Regions from separate parts of the Homo sapiens genome. Here region 2 is linked to region 1. Evidence: promoter capture Hi-C in human tissues and cell types (Jung and others, 2019). All regions are on one chromosome and are shown on one strand. Each heading gives the region's core, a stretch centred on a gene start or on the middle of the fragment in contact. The rest is flanking DNA. Distances are from core to core; before and after follow the strand shown. Region 1 holds the start of RPS6KB2 (ribosomal protein S6 kinase B2). Region 2 holds the start of NDUFV1 (NADH:ubiquinone oxidoreductase core subunit V1).

Region 1 (3,951 bases), core at 1-2,500:
ACAATACACATCACAACAGACAATAAACCAGCAAACGCCAAAGTCAGGGATCCTCCTCCACTGTGTTCCCTGCTGTCTTCCCAAAGCCTGGTACAGCATGTTGGGAATGGCAGCCACACAGTATTCGTTGGCTGAACGAGTGACTCACCTTCCTTAGGACTTTCATGGCATATATTTTGCCCAAGTTGGTGCCTTGCACCTTTCGCACCTGGAACACCTGTAGGGCAGGGGAGACAGGATCAACTTCCCTCTCCACATCCTATCTTCAAGAAGCCCCACCCTGAAGCTCTGGCTTTGGGATCAGGAGGCCTAGGCCCTGCCAAGGGTGGGGCAGTGAAGATTTCAAGTCCGATTGGAGAGGATTTGGCCTTCCCTCCTTTATGTTTCTGGCTCTGAATCCCATTAGAGGCCCTGCTGATTCACAAGTCTAATTTGTTTTGAGAACCCTTTGCTGCCTCCAGATGGAGGCTGTGAGGCCAGGAGGAGGGTGCGCCCGCCCCTACCTTGCCATAGCCCCCCTTGCCCAGCACACGCAGCAGCTCAAAGCAGTGGGGCCCGATGCGCTCTGGGCCAACGTTCACGCTGGTCTCAGTCAGCTCCACCTCTTCATAGTGTCCCACAGGCCTACGGACACAAGGAGTTAATGAGGACAAGGCTCCAGTGCTCCCCAGTTCCCCTTCCCCACTCCATTCCCCCCTCCCCCAACACGACCCTCACTCACTCTAGGCCAGCTGCCCTCAACTCGGCAAGGGGACATGCGTCCTGTGAGAAACCGAGGGGTAAGAGCCAAGGAAGGTGCCAGGATACCTCCCCGCTCCCGTTCAGGTTGGACTGCGTGGCCCAGGAGAGAAGGGTGTCAGGGATGGCAGCTAGTAGGGGATGGGTAAGAATTGGGAAGAAACCGAAGGCAGGAAAGGGAGAATCGGGAGAAAAGGCTGGGGTTCTGGAAGAGAGGTCGGGGTGAGGGTGGGATCAGAACTTAATAGAGACCGGGATCTGAGAAGGATCTGGGTCTGCAAAGAGTCGGAGCCCGCTCTGGGCGTGCGGAGCCGCCGCTCCGGCCTCGGCTGGGTGACAGGATCGGCTCCAGGATCCAGTCGCGCCAGGGCAGGGCACTCACCGCGGGGCTGAGCTCTGGCTCGCCCTCGCCCTCGCTGCCTTCCTCCGTCTCCAAATCCAAATCAAACACGGCCGCCATGGCGGCGCCGGCCCCGCGGGCCCGTCGGCCCGTACCTGGCCGCGCACTGACTGACAGTCCCGGACCTAAACATCATCTCTCCGCGACGGCAGCTGCGCGCGCCGGTGACGCAAGGGATCTTACTCCCCCTCCGGAAAATCGCTTAGCCTGGTGGGGAACAAAGATGGCTTCCGTCGCAAGGCCTCTCGGGAATTGTAGTCCTAGAGTGGCGAGGCGCCTAGCCTTCAGCCTGCAGAATCCTTTCCGCAGGACCCTCGGTCTTCCCAGCAAGGCTTTCTGGGAGCCCGTTTTGGTTCTACGGTGTTTTGAGTTTGGATGGAGCAGGGTCGGAAGTGTATGCAGGTGTGAATGTAAATGCAATCCCCAGCCCTGTTGGAGACGGGTACTGCCAGGCCGGCTGCGTGATGAAAGGCAGGTCGCGTTGCTTTCGGTTCACTCCAGAAAGGGAGGCGGCTGCATCAGGGTCTCCTCAAAGTGCCTCTGGCTCGAGGACCCTGCAAATCGGAGCATTTACTGAGTGGCCAGCTCACTGCCAGGCTATGTTGCCAGGTTCCCGCCTTAAATAGGGTTTTGGGGGTCAGTGATAGACCTGTAAATATGGGATTTTGTTGGCGTTTACTCCCTTCTTAATTTAAGCACATTTAGGCACCTGGTACAGAATAGACACTTCAAAAAACGTTGTTGAGGCCGGACACGATGCCTCACGCCTGTAATCGTAGCACTTTGGGAAGCCAAGTTGGGAGGATCACTTGAGGCCAGGAGTTCAAGGTTACAGTGAGCTATGATGGTGCCACTGCACTCCAGGCTGGGTGACACAGTGAGATCCTGTCTCAAAAAAACAAACAGGCCGGAGGCGGTGGCTCACACCTGTAATCTCAACACTTTCGGAGGCCGAGGTGGGTGGATCACTTGAGGTCAGAAGTTGGAGACCAGCCTGGCCAACATGATGAAACTCTGCCTCTACTATAAATACAAAAAATTAGACGGGTGTGGTGGCGCGCACCTGTACTCCCAGATACTCGGGAGGTTGAGGCAGGAGAATCGCTTGAACTCGGGCGATAGAGGTTGCAGTGAGCCAAGATTGCACCACTGCGCTCCAGGCTGGGCGGCAGAGTGAGACCAAGTCTCAAACAGATAAAACCCGAAAACCTGGCTGGTCACGGTGGCTCACACCTGTAATCCCAGCACTTTGGGAGGCCGAGCCAGGCGGATCACCTGAGGTCGGGAGTTCAGGACCAGCCTGACCAACATGGAGAAACCCCGTCTCTACTAAAAACACAAAATTAGCTGGGCATGGTGGTGCATGCTTGTAATCCCAGCTACTCGGGAAGGCTGAGGCAGGCGAATCACTTGAACCTGGGAAGCGGAGGTTGCGGTGAGCCAAGATCATGCCATTGTACTCCAGCCTGGGCAACAAGAGCGAGACTCCATCTTAAAAAAAAAAAAAAAAAAAAAAAAAAAAAAAAAAAAAACTTTATGGTTTTTTTTTCTTTGTTTTGTTTAGTTTTTCAGACAGGATCTTACTCTGTCACCCAGGCTGGAGTACAGTGGCAAGATCGTGGCTCATTGCAGCCTTGACTTCTTGGGTTCCAGTGATTCTCCCACCTCAAATCCCAAGTAACTGGAATGACATAATCACATAATCTTTTTTCTTTTCTTTCTTTCTTTCTTTTTTTTTTTTTTTAGAGGGGAGGTCTTGTTTTGTTGCCCAGGAGGCTGGTCTTGAACTTCTGGACTCAAGTGATCCTCCTGCCTTGGCCTTCCAAAGTGCTGTGATTACAGGCATGAGCCACTACACCCAGCAAAAACCAAAAACGCTGTTGACAGAATGAACTTAGGCCAGGCAGGGTCGCTCATGCCTGCGATCCCAGCAATTTGGGAGGCCAAGGCGGGTGGATCACTTGAGGTCAGGAGTTCAAGACCAGCTTAACCAACATAGTGAAAACCTGTCTCTACTAAAAATACAAAAATTAGCCGGGAGTGGTGGTGCATGCCTATAGTCCCAGCTACTTGGGAGGCTGAGGTAGGAAAATCGCTTGAACCTGGGAGGCAGAGGTTGCAGTGAATCAAGATCACGCCATTGCACTACAGCCTGGGCAACAGAGTGAGACTCCGTCTCCAAAAAAAGAAAAAAAAAGAAAGAAGGAATGAACACACTCAACACAGCAAATCTTGTCTGTGACATGTGGTCTGTGACTTTAGATTGGGTATGGATTTGGCGGGGCGCGGTGGCTCACACCTGCAACCCTAGCACTTTGGGAGGTCGAGCCGGGTGGATCGCTTGAGGTCAGGAGTTCGACACCAGTCTGGCCAACATGGTGAAACCCCGTCTCTACTAAAAATACAAAAATTAGCTGGGTGTGGTGGTGGGTGCCTGTAATCCCAGCTACTTGAGAGGCTGAGGCAGAAGAATCACTTAAACCCGGGAGGCAGAGGTTTCAGTGAGCCGTGACTGTGCCATTGCACTCCAGCCTGGGCAGCAAGAGTGAAACTGTCTCAAAAAAAAAAAAAAAGATTGGGTATGGATTCTTATTGGATGGGGATGTGTGGGTGTGAATTTGGGTCAGACCAGGCCTTGGGTGTGAGTTCTGATTGTTGGAGGCTGTCTAGGTGTGCCTTCCATGTGCATAGGGGAGGTTGGGTATGAACTGAGGTGGACAGAATTCAGGGGTCTCCAGGCATGCAGAGGGTTATCTCGTTGAATGTGGCCCTCTGGTTGTAATTCCACCAAAGGAGATCCCCAGGTTCGGGTC
Region 2 (3,951 bases), core at 1-2,500, 180 kb before region 1:
GGCGTAATCTCAGCTCACTGCAAACTCCACCTCCCAGGTTCAAATAATTCTTGTGCCTCAGCCTCTGGATAGCTGGGATTACAGGCACTCACCACCACGCCCGGGTAATTTTTGCACTTTTAGTAGAGACAGGGTTTCACCATATTGGCCAGGCTGGTCTCGAACTCCTGACCTCAAGCGATCCGCCCGCCTCAGCCTCCCAAAGTGCTGGGATTACAGGCGTGAGCCACCGCGCCCGGCCATTAGTAAGCATTTTGTTTAGCAGGTACTGGATGGAAGCATTTTACATCCAAAATCCCATTTCATCCTCATAAGAACTCTGATAGGAACGATTTTCTCTGTTTCACAGAGGAGAAAACTGAGGCTTGGAGCAAAAGGAGCTTATGGAAGGTCTCACAGTCAAAAGCAGCAGGTCCAATTTGAGCCCAGGTCTGTCGGTGGCCAAACCCACAGCTGCATCACGGCACCACACAGCCCCACAAGCCGAGTGTGGCAGCTTGGCCCTTTCCCGGCCTGGCTCCCCTGCTGGACCAAAACTTGGGTAGGCCAGGGGCCTTTTATATTCCTACCTCGGCCGAAGAGGCGAAATGTGTTTACTGATGGGAAAGAAATGCCTCCTTAACACACAGGTGATGGAGGGGCTCACTTAGGATGAAATGAGGAGCCCCACGACCCAGTGGAGAGCGCACCAGCTGAGGGCGACGGGATTCCCATCCTTTTAAGAGCACTTTTCAGCCACTTCAGGGCGCAGAGCAGTGGACGGGAAATCAGGAGGTGCGCATCCCTAAATGGGGCAATGACCCCTTCACGCCCTACAAGGCTGTGACAAGGAGAGAATGAAAGACTAGGGGTCTTCACAACCTGCAAAACTTCCGCCAGGCCGAGGACTGTAAAACAAGGGAAGCCAGCAAGTCAGAGGGTCAAGGGAGTCGGCCCCGCGTTGGGACCCGTTCCCCTACTTCAACCAGGCCGGAGCGGGGGCCTTCCCGCCTGGCCTGGGGAGAAGGGCTCTCCAGAGGCCACTACAGACCCCAGGGACTGCTCGTGCACGGGCGCGGCCGCGACACCCGGCCCCAAACACCCGTGGCCCCAGCCAGGCTGGGCCTCACCGTGTCGCCGCTGAAACGCACAGATACCCGCGCGGGAAGCGACCAGCCGAGCAGCCGCCGTGTTGCCAGCATCGCGGCGGGCCAGATGGGTCACCTCACGCTGTCACCTTCATAGCACTGAGGCTGAGGAACTGGCGCGATAGAGACGCTAGGTGGCGCGCAGGAAAGACGTCACGCGCCCGACGCCAGCGCCGCGCACCGGTATCGCTGCGCCCCTTCAACTTCGCCAGCGGCCCCGCCTCCTCGGGGGAGGACTGAGAGGCCAGTGCCTTGGCGCCGGGGCTTCTGGGAGATGTGGTCCCACCGGCCTGGGGTCCGCCTTCCTCCCTCCACCGGGCTGGCATTTAGCGGTGGCTGTCCCCACCGCTCGCTCTTTCGCTCCCTCCTTAGCTCGCCGGCTCCCAGCCTTTGATGCCACAAGTAAACAAACCTCGCATGTCGCCTTCTGCTGGGTCCTGGTGTGTTCCACTTTCTATAGATTCGGCGTTTAGTGTGCACCTGCGGTATGCATCGGTGTATCATGGGAGGAGTGAAAAGTCAGGCAGGTCATAGCCCGATCCTCATGACTACGTTGCAATTATTCTGCCCAGTGCGAGCCCTGCCAGACTGTGGGCTTCCCCACCCCGGGCGTCCGTGTGCTCGAGGAAGGATTGCAGACTCCAAGGCAGGGGGTTGTTCGCGGAGTTCTTCCCAGAGGGCCTGTCACGGAATCCTAGGCTGGGGTGAGGCAGAGAGGATGCAGATGGTCAGTGCACGGCACAAACTCTTGCTGGCGCCGCTGAGTTCTCTCAGCTCTTGTCAGGAGAGTCCAGCACTTTCTGCTTCTGCCCAAAATCCTGGCATGGTCCCTGCTGCTTTTGGAATCAGCCACTGGTCCAGGATTTAAGGGCTCTGCGACCCCGTCCTTCGCCAGGGTCATCACGCCCAGGCCACTGCTGTGAACCCCACCCCCGTCCCCCAAGACCCCTTTCTGCCGTCATTAGACTTTAGGGCGTTTGTGTGGCTGTCCCCCTCCCTCGGTTTTCCCCTGACCTGAGGAGGTCCCTCTGTCCTTTGCCTTCCCAGGAGGTCTTGGAAGCCTGATGAACTCGTCTTTTTCAGTTTCCTGGAACCCTCTGCTGTGGTCCTCGTGATAAGAGTGACCTTTTTGGCCTGCTCTCCCCAGCTCTTTTCCAGTCCTCATGGTGAGGAACCATCTCTGTTCTTTTGTGCTGTAATCATCCTTCCTGATCTCTCTAAAACGTGCTGTTTACAAAACTCCTTTGCAGCTATTTTCTCACATACCCCACAGCAGCCCCACAAGGTGTTCACTCCATTTTGTCCACGAAAAAACTGAGGCTCAGGGGGATTTTGTCCTTTGTCTGTGGGCATGAAGCTGCTGAGTGGTGGAGCTGGACTGGAATCTAGGCCTTTCTTCCTTTCCACAGTGCCCCGCACACAGCAAACCCACAGAACAACTGACACGCATGTGACAGTCACTGTGGACGTCAGTGACATTCCCAAGAGAGGCACCAAGAAATCTCTTCCCTGTCTGAGGTTTCCCAGACAGATAGAGTAGTATCAGGCCCAGAGCCCAGGAGTCCTGGCTGCCAGCCGCAGGCCCCCTCTCTTGGTCAGGGAAAGAGGTTGCCTAGGCAAAGCTGGGGATTACACAGCTAATCCGGGCTCAGACCTGAGTCCTCGGATCCCTCCCTTTGGGGCAGAAGAAGGGGGGCAGGTCAGAGCCAGCCCAGCGGGTGGATTCCTTCCTCATCTGTCTCTAACTGGGTCAAAGGAATACAGGCTGAGGGAGATGCAGGTTGGGGATGCTGGGGACAGGAGATGCTGGGCATGAGGGGGGATGGAAAACGGAGAGTGAGGGAAGGATCCTCTGTTCATTCAGTGCCAGGCTCTGGGCCAAGCACTTGCCATGTGTTACCTCCTTAATCCTCCAAAACTCCAGCCTCAGGAATGATGAGCCCTGTTTTCAGAAGCAGGGTATCAGCATTGCTGAGTGGCCTGCCCAGGATGACACAACTGCCAGAACTCGGCCTGAGGTCTCCTAACAACAAATCCCCCACTGGTCCCCACCCACTGGAGCACCTACTTGCCAGGCTTCTCAAGCGAAGAAGGAGATCCACTCTGATGTCATCTCCCAGGAGCCTTCTCTGCAGCATCTCAGGTCCTGGCTCTCACCTCCTCAGCACCCATCCCATCCTGTGTCACTCTGTATATCAGCCTCCCCAGCCAGCCTCCAGGCCACAAGCCAAGAGGTATCAAGGGCTCCTCCCTGTCCCACTGGCCCCACATCCACTGTGTCTATCTGGTCAACTTTACCTTCCAAACATTCCCTGCACAGTGATAGATGGCTGTGGCCCTGTCATCTCTCACCTGAAATTAACAATGTATCCTTGGGGCCTCCCACCCTCACATCTTGGCTCCTCCAGCCCCTTCTCTGCAAACATGGAACAGTGGGATTATTATAAATCTCAGACCCGTTTTGCCCCTTTCCTGCCTGAGAGTTTTTGTGGTTCCCCACTGCCCTCAGAACAAAGCTCAAGACCCTTTGGCCTGGCATTCAAGGTCCTTTGTGCTGCCACCTGTCAACCTCCCCAGTTCCAGCTCCTTTGGCTTTGCCCATACAAGCTGGATCTGCACCAGAGGATCTGTCTTCCTCCCAACTTGGCCCTAGTCCTCCTAGGAGCCCTTTGGACGTCACCTCCCCCAGGAAGCTTTCTGCAACCACCCTACAACCGTCCCTATAAACTTTATAAAACCAATTAGTGTGGGGAAAAGCAAGAGAGATCAGATTGTTACTGTGTCTGTGTAGAAAGAAGTAGACATAGGAGACTCCATTTTGTTA

Evidence for each region. The method cuts DNA at HindIII sites, captures the fragments that hold promoters and counts their contacts. A contact is called where the count stands out against the background at its distance.
Region 2: a contact is called between the fragment with the promoter of NDUFV1 here and the fragment with the promoter of RPS6KB2 in region 1, in 1 of the 25 tissues and cell types used here (liver).

Annotation. Positions count from the first base shown.
Region 1 is chr11:67,425,793-67,429,743 of GRCh38, reverse strand. It overlaps RPS6KB2 (ribosomal protein S6 kinase B2), which reads right to left and starts at 1,250. Exons shown (of 15, transcript NM_003952.3): 1 at 1,121-1,250; 2 at 722-762; 3 at 504-624; 4 at 149-217. The coding sequence starts at 1,198. RefSeq lists enhancers at 5-772, 1,207-1,456, 773-1,540, 1,557-1,706. The HindIII fragment of the contact is 10,585 bases long and covers 1-3,951 here.
Region 2 is chr11:67,604,235-67,608,185 of GRCh38, reverse strand. It overlaps NDUFV1 (NADH:ubiquinone oxidoreductase core subunit V1), which reads right to left and starts at 1,250. Exons shown (of 10, transcript NM_007103.4): 1 at 1,110-1,250. The coding sequence starts at 1,181. NDUFV1-DT (NDUFV1 divergent transcript) reads left to right here and starts at 1,480. Exons shown (of 3, transcript NR_130935.1): 1 at 1,480-1,567; 2 at 2,175-2,293; 3 at 3,083-3,951. RefSeq lists enhancers at 1,172-1,301, 1,682-1,741, 2,641-3,326. The HindIII fragment of the contact is 16,538 bases long and covers 1-3,951 here.